Linked DNA regions of Homo sapiens: all the other regions are linked to region 2. The links are contacts of gene promoters, found by promoter capture Hi-C in human tissues and cell types (Jung and others, 2019). All regions are on one chromosome and are shown on one strand. The core of a region is centred on a gene start or on the middle of the fragment in contact, and the rest is flanking DNA. Distances in the headings are between cores, read along the strand shown.

Region 1 (3,840 bases), core at 226-2,725, 34 kb before region 2:
GTGGAATGAAAGCAGCCCCTAATATCTACCTCTTGCTGTTCCCTGCCACACTCGGGACCCAGGGAAATGAGGGCGGGTTACATCAAGCGCAAGCGCGCGCGCGCACGCACACACACACACACACACACACACACAGCCCTCCCAGCTGTCACACCCATGGTCTACCCGAGCAAGGCCGCACCCCCACCCCGCCCCGCCCCCCGCAGCCAGGCCCCTCCCGTGGGAGCCCAAGCGAAAGGCGGCGGGTGTCCGAGTCAGAAGTTTCAGCGGAAATTGAAGCGCGGCCCTGGGACAGGAGGGGGGTGAGGCAGAGGGAAGGAGGTGGCTGTCGTCCCCCGCCCTCCCCGGTCTGCAGGCACAGCACACACCGCAGACACGCGCGCACCGTCCACCTGCAAACCCGGAGCCGCGCACTGGGGAGAACCAGCGGCCCTGCCGGGCCAGAGATCGCGCGCTGCGCCCCCGCTCCCACTCCCTCGGCTCCCCCGCTCCAGGGCACCCCAGCCCTGTCCCGGCGGTGTCCCCTGCACCGCCAACCCCTGCCACCAAGTGCCCAGCCCTCCAGACAGCTCTCACCATCTCCTGAGACACAGGTGCTCGGGACCCACCCTCACCCAGGACTCTCCCCTGCGGGTTCACGAGGACCCCCTCGGATCCCCCGCCACCCCCAGAGTCCTCCAGTGCCCCCCACAAGCCCCTCACCGCACCACACGACTCCCCTATCCCGCACTCACGCAAAACAGACCCCCGCACGCCCTCCTCTAGGGGTGACGGCCGGACACCTCCGTCCCTGGCTTCCCCAGCCCAACTCGGGCGACCCCACGCTCCGCGGGGCCGCGTCACCTGAAGCCCGGGGGGAGCACTCAGCCCAGGCCCGGATCAAAAGGGATCTGACCTGGCCGCGCCCCGACGGCGGGGTCTGTGAAAAGGTGTGTAAGGGGCGTGCGTGCGTGTAACACGCGGCAACACGCAGACGCCCAGAGGCTTCCGGCGCCCCCTTCCCCGGCCGCCCCCTCCCGCCCCCCGGCCTCCGGGCGAGTCCGCAGGCCGCACCCCGCCGAGTACCTCGCCCCGTCGTTCCGCGTGGGCCCGGGCGCCGCCGGGGCTCAGAGCCTCCAGGGCACCAGCAGGTGGGCCGGCCCGCTGCGCTGCTGCCGAGCTCGGGATCCCAGCCCAGCTCCAGCCCTGCCCGGGTCCTAGCAGCGGACGCGCGCGGAGCCGCCTCCACTTCCGCTGCGAGTCTCGTGCGCGCCCGGCCCCCGGTCCGGGTGATGCAAACCGGAGCTAATCCCCCGGTCCGGGTGATGCAAACCGGAGCTAATCCCCCGGTCCGGGTGATGCAAACCGGAGCTAATCAGCCGCCGTCTGATGCCCTCGGGCCCGGGATCGCACCATCCCCCGCGCCGCGCCCGGGCCTCTCTCCTCTGCATCCGCTGCACCTGGGACCCGCCCTCGCTGGCCCCCTAGGGGCGTCTGGTCAGTGCAGACATCAGCCACGGACTCTCCCTATCACCTTGGAAAAAAAATTTGCTCTTTTTTTTTTTTTTTTTGAGACAGAGTCTTGCTCTGTCGCCCAGGCTGGAGGGCGGTGGCGCGATCTCGGCTCACTGCAAGCTCCGCCTCCCGGGTTCACGCCATTCTCCTGCCTCAGCCTCCCGAGTAGCTGGGACTACAGGCGCCCGCACCACGCCCGGCTAATTTTTTGTATTTTTAGTAGAGACGGGGTTTCACCTTGTTAGCCAGGATGGTCTCGATCTCCTGACCTCGTGATCCACCCGCCTCGGCCTCCCAAAGTGCTGGGATTACAGGCGTGAGCCACCGCGCCCGGCCAAAAATTTGCTCTTCTGAGCCTCGGTTTCCCCACCTATGAAATGGGAAGAACATTCCTCCTTCTCAGGATGGTGCTTAAAAGAGCAAACAGTGACTGTTGTCGGGGTGCTTCCCCTTTTTTATAAAGCACATTCCCAGCACTGCCTTATAAAACCTTTAGGAGAAGTGGACATGCGGGAATCTCCATTCTCCACATTCTACTGAGAGCCAGCCTGAGGCCCAGCTATGGGCAAGTGGTTCAGAAGCTTCAGGAAGGCCTATGGACTTAAGAGCTGACTCTGGGCTCAAAGGAACCACCGTGGCGCCCTTGGGAGGCCTAAGGTCTGCTGAGCTTCCCCGCGTCCCTTTGCTAGAGGCAGTGCGGCCTAGTGGTGAAGAGCCCCTAGAGCCAGCTGGCCTAAGAGTGCACTCCACCTCCGCTCCAACCCACAGTGCTACCCCAGAAAAGCTACCTAAAACCCTGCCTCAACTTCCTGCTCCATAAAATGGGCTCATAATTGCGCTCACTTCATAAAGTTGTTGTGAGGATTAAATAATTTAATATGTGTAAGACGCTTAGAACAGTGTGTGGCACATTGCGGATGCTCAGTGGAGTGTAAACAATGGAGACAGAGAGGGAAAGAGGCCTTTAATATGCTTGCACCCAAGGCCTGGGAGGGCTTGGTGCTACTTGATTTGGGGTGAAACACCCCTCTGCGTCCTAGGCGTCCAGCACCTTTCTTTTTTTTTCTTTTTTTGAGGCAGAGTTTCACTCGTTGCCCAGGATTGAGTGCGATGGCACGATCTCGGCTCACTGCAACCTCCACCTCCCGGGTTCAAGCGATTCTCCTGCCTCAGCCTCCCAAGTAGCTGGGATTACAGGCATGCGCTACTATGCCTGGCTAATTTTGTATTTTTAGTAGAGACAGGGTTTCTCCATGTTGGTCAGGCTGGTCTCGAACTCCTGACCTCAGATAATCCACCTGCCTCGGCCTCCCAAAGTGCTGAGATTACAGGCATGAGCCACCGCGCCCGGCCTGGGTCCAGCACCTTTCTTAGAAATCCCTTTTGATCTGAATTCACCAGTGTCAAAAAATAACTCCTCAGCTGGGTGAGCTGGCTCATGTCTGTAATCCTAGCACTTTGGGAGGCCAAGACGGGAGGATTGCTTGAGGCCAGGAGTTTGAGAACAGCCTGGATGACATAGTAAGACCCTGTCTTTACAAAGAGAAAAAGATAGCGGGCATGGTGGTACGAGCTTGTGGTCCCAGCTACTTAGGAAGCTGAGGTAGGAGGATCACTTGAGCCCAGGAGTTCAGGTTACAGTGAAACGTGATTGTGCCACTGCACTCCAGGTTGGGTGACAGAGTGAGATCCTGTGTAATAAATAAATAAGTAAGTAAGTAAAATAACTCCTCTAGAGGCTGGGCGTGGTGGCTTATGCCTGTAATCCCAGCACTTTGGGAGGCTGAGGCAGGTGGATCACGAGGTCGGGAGATCAAGACCATCCTGGCTAACACGGTGAAACCCGTTTCTACTAAAAGTACAAAAAATTACTAAAAATACAAAAAACACACCTGTAGTCCCAGCTACTCGGGAGGCTGAGGCAGGAGAATCGCTTGAACCCAGGAGGCAGGAGTTGCAATGAGCTGAGATTGCGCCATTGCACTCCAGCCTGGGCGACAGAGCAAGACTCCGTCTCAAAAAAAAAAAAAAAGTAAAATAAAATAAAATAACTCCTCTAGGCAGAGGCTGGATGGGAGGCAGGGTGGAGTCATATTTGTTTTCCTGTTTCCAAATCCCTGGGGACCAGCTCACCTGTGTCCCAGAGCCTTCAGGGTATACCAGGGCATTCTGGGATCTCATTTAATCCTGGCAACTCCCCTGCTGGGGAGGGGTGAATAAACTCATCCTCTATCCTGGGACACCGAAATGGTTAGGAAGATCCCACAGCTGTGAGGGGTGAAGAAAGGTGGGAGGGCTGTTTCCTGAGCACCCCTCTGAAGGTGTGCTGGGTTTGCTTGTACATTC
Region 2 (3,762 bases), core at 1-2,500:
GAGGAAAAACAACAACAACAAAAGCCACGACAGAGAACGGGAAAAGGCAGAGACTGAAAGCGAAGGACCGTCGGAGGAGGAGGGCGAGAGGTCTGGAGAGGAGGGCTCGCCGGAGGAGGCGGGCGGGGCGGGCTGTGCGGAGGGTGCGGCCAGCGCGGTACCCGCCCCGGCGAGGCGCTGGGGAGGCCCGGGTGGGGAGAAGAAATGGGGCCTGGGGGACGGTAGGAGCCTCCGTGCGGAGACCACTGTTCAAGGCCACAGGTGAGGAGGTGTGGAGGGGGCTTCGGGGCTGTTGACCTGGGTCAGCTCCTCCCCTCCAATTCACCGCTTCCGCGACTCCAAATAGATGGAATCACTCAGTCCTGCTGCTACTGGAGAGGGAAGGTGACCTTGACGCTGCCTCCCGCTCGGCCTGGCCCCTCCGCCTGGCGTTTCAGGGCTGCACGGAGTAGGTCTGGCGGGCGGGGGGCGGGGCGCAGGCACCCGGGACGAGGGTTGCCATGGGAACCGCTAGGGAGGCGTCCCCAGCCCGGGAGCCGGGAGGAGCTCGGTGGGAGGGGAGCGGGAGGCGGAGGGGGCTGCGCTGTCCGACGTGGGGAGACTGCGGCGGAGGGAGGAGGCGAGGGGCGGCAGGCACGGGCGGAAGTGACGGAAGCCAGGGCCCGAAGATGGACGGAATCTGTCGCCTCTGCACAGCCTCATTCAGTTGTGTCCTTCCCAGACCCTCAGACTCGCCCACTACAGCGTCCAGCGCTGCCCGGGCGGGGGAGAAGGGGCGCCCTCCCGGGGGGGATGGGTAGGGGGTGTCGGCCGGGGAAATCAGGCCATTTCCCGCCTCCCTTCCCCACCGGCACCCGCGCCACTCTTCCTGACAGGACCACCGATGCCCTGCTCCACACCAACTGCGTCCTTTTCCCTAGAGAGAAACTGAGGCAGAGAGGGGTAGGAATGGGTTTTTGAAGTGTTGGCGGGGGTGGGGGTGTCCTTTGAAGCCTCTACCCAGCCTATCAACCCTGAGGCGTCGAGGGGCGATGGGGCTGTTTCTGTCTCCCGCCCCTGCTGCTTCCCTGGGACCCCCACCTCCCAAAGCCGAGGCTCAGGCGCAAAGGTCCCGGCCCTGGCGGGACACGGCCCGGGCTGAGGATGCGGGCAGAGCGCGGGGGTTCTCCAGGGGCTGGGGCTGGGGCCTGGCCGCGCGTGGGGCAGGGCTAAGCTCACCTCTCTGCCTGCTGTCTCCGCCGAGCAAAGGCGGGTCCGGTTCGCGCCTGCGCCGCAGTTCGGGGCGGGGGAGGGGGCGCCGGCCCGCCTCAGGGCCTGGCTCTGCAGACGGCGGCCGCCTGCAGCTCCCCCGGCTCCTGTCCCCTTCCAGAGTTCCCTGCTCGCTCGGACACCCCAGCGCCCTCACAGAGACCCCTCGGACTCCCTGGGCCCCAGCCCCTCACGCAGCCCCTCAGACTCCTCACCGAAGCTGCCGTCACTCCCGCAGTTCCCCACCCCTCCCGTGGAAGACCCATCCCTTAACCGAGCCTTCCTCTCCTCGCTGCACCGTCAGTCCCTTTTCCAGGTCTCCATCCCCCTCATGGAGCCCCACCCCAGCGTAGAAACCGCTTCTCCTCGCCGGGCCCCCGCCCTCTTCACAGGCTCCCATCTGTCTCCGGGCTCCTACCGGGAAGTCCCCTCCCACTTGCCTTGAGAGCCGCTAATCCCTCTGGAGTCCTCACATCTCACTCAGTCCCCATCCTCTTTTCATCCTCTTTTCCTCTTTGAGTCCCTACCCATCCCTGGTACGGGATCAGCCCTTGTACCTTGAGAAGGGAGTTTGGGTGGAGGACTCGGGGTTGGGAGAGAAGTGACCTCCACTTTGGAAGGAGCTAATGACAGCCTCCCTTGTTGTTTCCTCCCCTAGCCCCAGTTCTGCCCTGGGCAATGCGTGCCCACTGCCCATCTCCCTGGAGAGCCAGCCTGTGCCAGGCAGCTGCATCTGCCTCCCACCCTGTCATGAGCTGTCAGCCTTGATTTTGTCCCACATTTGCTGTGTGATCTTGGGAAAGTCATTGTGCCCCTCCAACCGTCATCAAGCACCCTTGCACAGACATGCCTTTGTGTCTTGAGCATCTATTCTGTTTCTCCTTGTGCTAGGGGCTGGGGACACACAGAAGAATGAGCTCGGCAAGATAGGGCCACATCTTCCTTTTTAGTTTTTCTTTTTCTTTTTTTTTAATTTTTATTTTTTTGAGACAGCGTCTCACTCTGTTGTCCAGGCTGGAGTGCGGTGGCATGATCACGGCTCACTGCAGCCTCGATCTCCCAAGGCTCAGGTGATCCTCCCACCTCAGTCGCCTGAGGAGCTGGGACTACAGGCACGCACTACCATGCCTAGCTAATTTTTTGTATTTTTAATAGAGACAGGGTTTTGCCATGATGCCCAGGCTGGTCTTGAACTCCTGAGCTCAAGTGATCCACCTGCCTCGGCCTCCCAAAGTGCTGGGATTGTAAGCGTGAGCCACCGCGTCTGGCCAAGGCCACATATTTCTTGTTCGTGTTGTATCTGTGAGCCTCCCATAGTGCTTGGCACTGAGTAGGCAGCCCAGTAAATATTTACTGAAGACAGTCTAATAATAGTAGCAAACTTATTATGCTCACTATGTGCAAAGTGTTTAAGCGTTTTGTATGTTCTATTTACTTACTCATTTAAGTGTGTGTGTGTGTGTGTATGTGTGTGTGTGTGATGGGAGGAACTCTTGCAGCTCAAAACTAAAGGCCCCAAATGGTGACAGGAGATGGCATTGGAGAGGCAGGCAGAAGTGAGACCTTGTGGGGCCTCATAAGCCAAGGTAAGGAGTTTGAGCTTCAGCCCAAGGGTAGTGGGGAGCCATGGAAGGGTTATGAAGAGGGGTGGGATGTGATCTGATTTTCATTCTGAAAAGACCTCTGGCTGCTGTCAAGAGAACAGCATGTTGAGCACAAGAGTGACAGCAAGAGATCAGCAAAGAGATCAGAGATGACAGTGTCTTGGCCTGGTGCAGAGAAATGAAGACATTCAAGAGATGTTAGCCTGTAAAATGAACTACAGGAATAGCTACAGATTGGAAACAACCTGTGGTGGTTTTAAAATATAGCTACAAATTCTTTAGCACTCCTCTGTAGAGAGGTGGGATCCTTGTACCCTCTCTGAATCTTGGGTGAGCTGATGACTGCTTCAACCAATGGAGTACGGTGGAAGTAACACTCTGACTTCTAAGGTCCAGACATAAAAGTACAGGCAACTTCTGCTAGAACTCTAGCTCTTGGAGCCTGAGGCACCATGCCTACCTAGGGCTCCATGTCTGCTTAGAGGCTGCCATGCTGTCAGGATGCCAAGACCATCAGGAGAGGACACATGAAGGCACCACAGTCCCAGCTAAGCTTAGCTTTGAGTCATCCCAGTTCAAGCATAAAAGAAGTGAGTGAAGAAGAACCAGATGAGGCCAGGCACGGTGGCTCACACCTGTAATCCCAGCACTTTGGGAGGCCAAGGCGGGTGGATACCCTGAGTTCAGGAGTTCGAGACCAGCCTGGCCACATGGCAAAACCCCGTCTCTACTAAAAATACAAAAATAGCCGGGCATGGTGGCGTGCACCTGTAATCCCAGCTACTAGGGAGGATGAGGCAGGAGAATTGCTTGAACCCGGGAGGCAGAGGTTGCAGTGAGCCGACATCATGCCATTGCACTGTAGAAGGCGAAGGGGAAGGGGAAGAACAAGATGATTCCAGTGGCCAGC
Region 3 (4,028 bases), core at 1,186-3,685, 61 kb before region 2:
GCATAACACGCCAGGCATTGTGCAAAGTGTTTCAGCATTGAGTTTAAGTCTCCTGGAGCACAGACCGACAGTATCCATTCTCTTCCCTTCCCTTACCAAGCGAACCCCTGAATTCTAGCTGAATATCTTGGCTATACAGTCTCCCCTCAAGCTGAACTGTAGCTGTGGGAATCAGTTCTGGTCCACAGGAATTAACGGAAGAAGTGTGTACAATTTTTGAGCTATGCTCTTTAGAAGAGTGTGGAGGGGTGTCTTTCTTCCCTTCCTCCTGTGATGTGATGGCTGGATGGAGCTGGAATGGCCATTTTGCACCATGAGGAATCTGGGAATGAATGGCAGAATGGTGAGAGAAACAATATGAGCCTCTGAGGACTGTCGGGAGCAGAACCTCCCTATCTGGACTCCCTGCCATCAAATTTGTTTACGTCACTGTTCCGTTTTCTTCTGTTGTATAAGGCCTAACATCCTAATACAGTACACCTCCTAACAACCCTATGAGATAGCTACTGTTACGGTCTGATTTTTAAAATGAGGACACACTGAGAGGTGAAGTGACCTGCTCTGTATTTCACAGTTGATTAATGACATAACTAGGGTTAGAAGCCAGGCCTCCTGAAGCCAGAACGTGCCATTAGGAAGAACTGTTCTACAGGCAAGAATATCCTGTCCTGCTGTCCCTTGGGTTCAGGCCAGCCATGCACTCCTCACCTGATGTCCTGCGTTGGGGAGACCTCAGGCTTCAGTTGCACACTCAGGGGCACCCGTTGCTCTGCCAGCCAGATGGCACACTTCATTGCCACCTGTTCATCCCCGCCCGCCACTGCTCGGGTGAGGCTCAGGGCCATTTCCTCTGCTGAAAGCCAGTACAGCAGGAGCCAGTTAGCACAGGGTTTATTTTCAGGAGCTGAGAGTAATGGGGTAGGAAAGGAGGCGATCCTTTGTGTGTGCTGCTTTCTCTGTCTTCCTGGTGAACTCCTACGTATCCTTCAGCACCCAGACTAAAAGTCCCTTTCTCCGGGAGGGGTTCTCTAATATTCCCCACTCCTCCTCACACTAGGCTCATTTGGTTGTTTGTCCTTCCCATTCCCAGGGTCCCTCATATTTCTATTCATTTATCCAACAAGCAGTTATTGAGCTTCTACTGTGTGCCACCCACTGTCCCAGGAACTGGAATCCCACAGAGATTTATAAACAGGGCCCCTCTCCTTATGGATCTCCCTGCCCAGTGGGGAGACAATGAACAAGTTTAACAAGAAAAAAAAAAAAAGTCAGATTGCGATCCTTGCTGGCAGGGAAATAAACAGGTTAAGGAGACCAGGGGAGGCCTCTGGGAGGGGGTAACACTGAAGCTAAGACCTGAAGGAGGAGAAGCTGCACGTGTCAAGCTCCAGTGGGGAAGAGTGGTCCAGGTGGAAGGAAGAGTAAGGGCCTTGGCCAAAAAATGGTTGGATGAGAACCGAAGGAAGCCAGTGGGGCTCCAGTAGAGTGAGCATGGCGGGGTGACTGAGGACAGATATCCTGTGGGCCACCCAGGGCCTCTGGGTTTTGTTTGGAGAACACAGAGGGGCATGGGAGGGTTTCCAGCAAGGCAGTGACTGACTTCCGTTCTACAACCCTAGGTGCAGGGGACAAGAGAAGAGGCAAGTACCCCTGCTTCTCAGGTCAACTGACGTCTGTCTCCCACCAGCCCAGGAGGTCTCCAAGTTCAATGCCCTGTGTCCTCTGCGAGTCCCCTAGCCCCATCTCAGCACAGAGCCAGCCCAAGGAGTTCTCAGGGCCCCAAGATGGCTCTGGAAGCCAGCAGGTACCAAAGGAGGAAACTGATGGGGAGGAGGGTAGAGGGAGGGCAGGCTAAAGCCCCCTCTCCAAGGCCCTTCTGGCCAGGGGCAAGGCCAGGTCCTGCGGGGCCCACTTCCCACCGGAAGTTCCCCAGCCACCTCCAGCCTGTGCCCACCTTTCTTGGTCTTCTCGTCCATCTGGCGTGGCTGTGCCCATCCCCCTGGGGGGGACCGTGCCTCCTGGGAAATGCTACCTCCGGGTCGCCTGGGAGAGGCGGGAGACCAGGAGCAACTCAGCCAGGCCGTGTGGCCTCCGGCGCGGCCCAAGCCCTGTGTGTGCCTCGCTGTCCCCGCGGCAGTCGGGAAGCATCACACTGCCCGGTGACCAGGCCGGGATCCTGCGTGGGGCGGTGAGAGGGCAGCGGGCGCCGAGACAGGTCCGCACTGGGCGCAGGAGGAAACGGGACCAGCCGAGGTGGGAAGAAGCGGGGAAAGGACGCCCGGACACCACCCAGCCGGGGCGTTCCAAGTCCCGGAGGACCCCCACTTGCGGGAGCGCCCCTGGCGTCCCGGGTTTCAAGGCAAAGCCCTCTCTCCTCCCGGGAGGCCCCAGTTCTTCGCAAGGGGAGCGGCTTCGGCGGAAGAGAAAGTGAAAGTGGCGGCCCCGGAAGTGGGGCGGGACTGGGAGGGGGGGCCGGAAAAATTGTCGCCTCATCCGGGACCTCCACTGCCCGGCTACCCGGCGGCGGCGGACGCCGAGTGCGGGGTCCCAGCGGTCCCGGCGCTCCTGTTTGGGGCGACCCCACCCCGTCCTCCGGGGCTGATCGCGGGTCCCCGGACTCCCGCCCGGGTCACCCTGCGGGCCGCATCGCAGAGCCGCGGGAAGGAGCTGGGCCGCAGGCGGGGTGGGCGGGGCCGGGGCGGGGCCGGGGGCGGGGCCGGGGGGGCCGGGGGCTGGGGGCGGGGCCGGGGTGGGCCGGGGGCCGGGGCCGGGGCCGGGGGCGGGGCCGGGGGCAGGAGCAGGAGCCTGAGCAGGAGTCGGCGCCGGAGCCGGGGCTGGAGGGCGGCGGGATCCACAGCGTCGAGCCGCTGGGGACGGGTTAGGAGCGCGCCCTGCGAGCCCGGCGCCTGCTCACCCAAGCCTCAGGCATACCTCGGGGCAGGCCCGGTCCTTGGCCCCGTTTGCACATGAATAAACGAAGGCTCTGTTTGTTGATGACCTGTCCAAGGCCACTCAGCCGAGGTTTGAATCCAGGCCTGGCAGGCTCAGGAACCCGCCCTTACCCAGATCCGACGCTGCCTCTCAGCGGTCACCGTCTGTCTTTTCGTTGAGCTATTGGTGAAGTTTGCATTCGTCTGCCTCATGCGCCGCTTTAATTTTTCTCCCGTTCCTCGTCCCATCGATCAGCAGATCCTGCGGGCTCCACTTGCAGAATCTCATCCCTCACCTCCTCCGGCCCCATCCCGCTCCAGCTCCATCAGTGCTCCATCATCTCAGGGGTCTTGAACCAGCCTCCTCCTGGGCCTCCTTGCTTCTCTTTTTGCCCCCTACCGTCCATTTCCACCTAGCTGCCGGAGAGTCCTGTTAAAATGTAAATCAAACCCATGCCACTCCCCGACCCAAGTACTCCCATCTCACTTAAAGCAAAATCCGAGATCTGTCCCAGGGCTCGCAAATTGCCTCCCGATCTCTGTCTTCGTAGCTGACTGCCCTGCCCCTGCCTCATTCCACTCAAGTCCCATTGACCTGCTGGGTCCTGGAGTAAGTCAGACACACTCCCGCCCTAAGGCCTTTGCACCTGCCATAACCCAAACGTCTGCATGGCTCCCTCCTTCCCTTTATTTTGGTCTTTACCCAAAAATCTTCCCTAGTTACTCCATCTGAAATTTCACAGACACACGTATCCAGCATTTCACATCCGCTTTCCTGGCTTCATTTTTTCTTCTCAGCATCTATTACTGTCTAACGGAGCATGTTTTACTTATTTATGTTATTCTGGGTCTGTTTTCCTCTCCTAGAGGGCAGGGACTTTGGTTTGTTTTGCTCACTGCTGTGTTCCTGGTGTCTAGAACAGTTCCAAACACATAATGGAGGCTCCATATGTTGAATGAAGGAATGAACCTCAGACCTTCATCTGGGATAATTTTTCTTTTGCCGGAAACACATCCCTTTAGACAATGTTTCTTAACTTTGGCTGTACATTTGAATGGCCTGGGGAAGCCTTTTTTTTTTTTTTTTTTTTTTTTGAG

What was found. The method cuts DNA at HindIII sites, captures the fragments that hold promoters and counts their contacts. A contact is called where the count stands out against the background at its distance.
Region 1: a contact is called between the fragment with the promoter of TRIB3 here and the fragment with the promoter of NRSN2 in region 2, in 6 of the 25 tissues and cell types used here (IMR-90 fibroblasts, adrenal gland, lymphoblastoid cells and 3 more).
Region 3: the fragment with the promoter of RBCK1 here is called in contact with the fragment with the promoter of NRSN2 in region 2 in 9 of the 25 tissues and cell types used here (H1 embryonic stem cells, IMR-90 fibroblasts, heart left ventricle and 6 more).

Annotation. Positions count from the first base shown.
Region 1 is chr20:378,395-382,234 of GRCh38, reverse strand. It overlaps TRIB3 (tribbles pseudokinase 3), which reads right to left and starts at 1,475. Exons shown (of 4, transcript NM_021158.5): 1 at 1,066-1,475. RefSeq lists an enhancer at 1-356 and silencers at 42-631, 902-1,011, 1,032-1,191. The HindIII fragment of the contact is 14,566 bases long and covers 1-3,840 here.
Region 2 is chr20:344,599-348,360 of GRCh38, reverse strand. NRSN2 (neurensin 2) reads right to left here and starts at 1,250. Exons shown (of 5, transcript NM_001323682.2): 1 at 1,219-1,250; 2 at 849-927. It overlaps LOC101929937 (serine/arginine repetitive matrix protein 2-like), which reads left to right. Exons shown (of 4, transcript XM_047440635.1): 2 at 1-261; 3 at 347-942; 4 at 1,370-2,095. The coding sequence ends at 1,693. RefSeq lists silencers at 143-232, 413-942, 963-1,382 and enhancers at 189-951, 952-1,714, 1,715-2,478. The HindIII fragment of the contact is 22,559 bases long and covers 1-3,762 here.
Region 3 is chr20:406,706-410,733 of GRCh38, reverse strand. It overlaps RBCK1 (RANBP2-type and C3HC4-type zinc finger containing 1), which reads right to left and starts at 2,435. Exons shown (of 12, transcript NM_031229.4): 1 at 1,955-2,435; 2 at 709-853. The coding sequence starts at 1,976. RefSeq lists enhancers at 1,458-1,527, 1,538-1,637, 1,698-1,797, 1,207-1,847, 1,848-1,897 and 1 more and a silencer at 2,468-2,737. The HindIII fragment of the contact is 18,382 bases long and covers 1-4,028 here.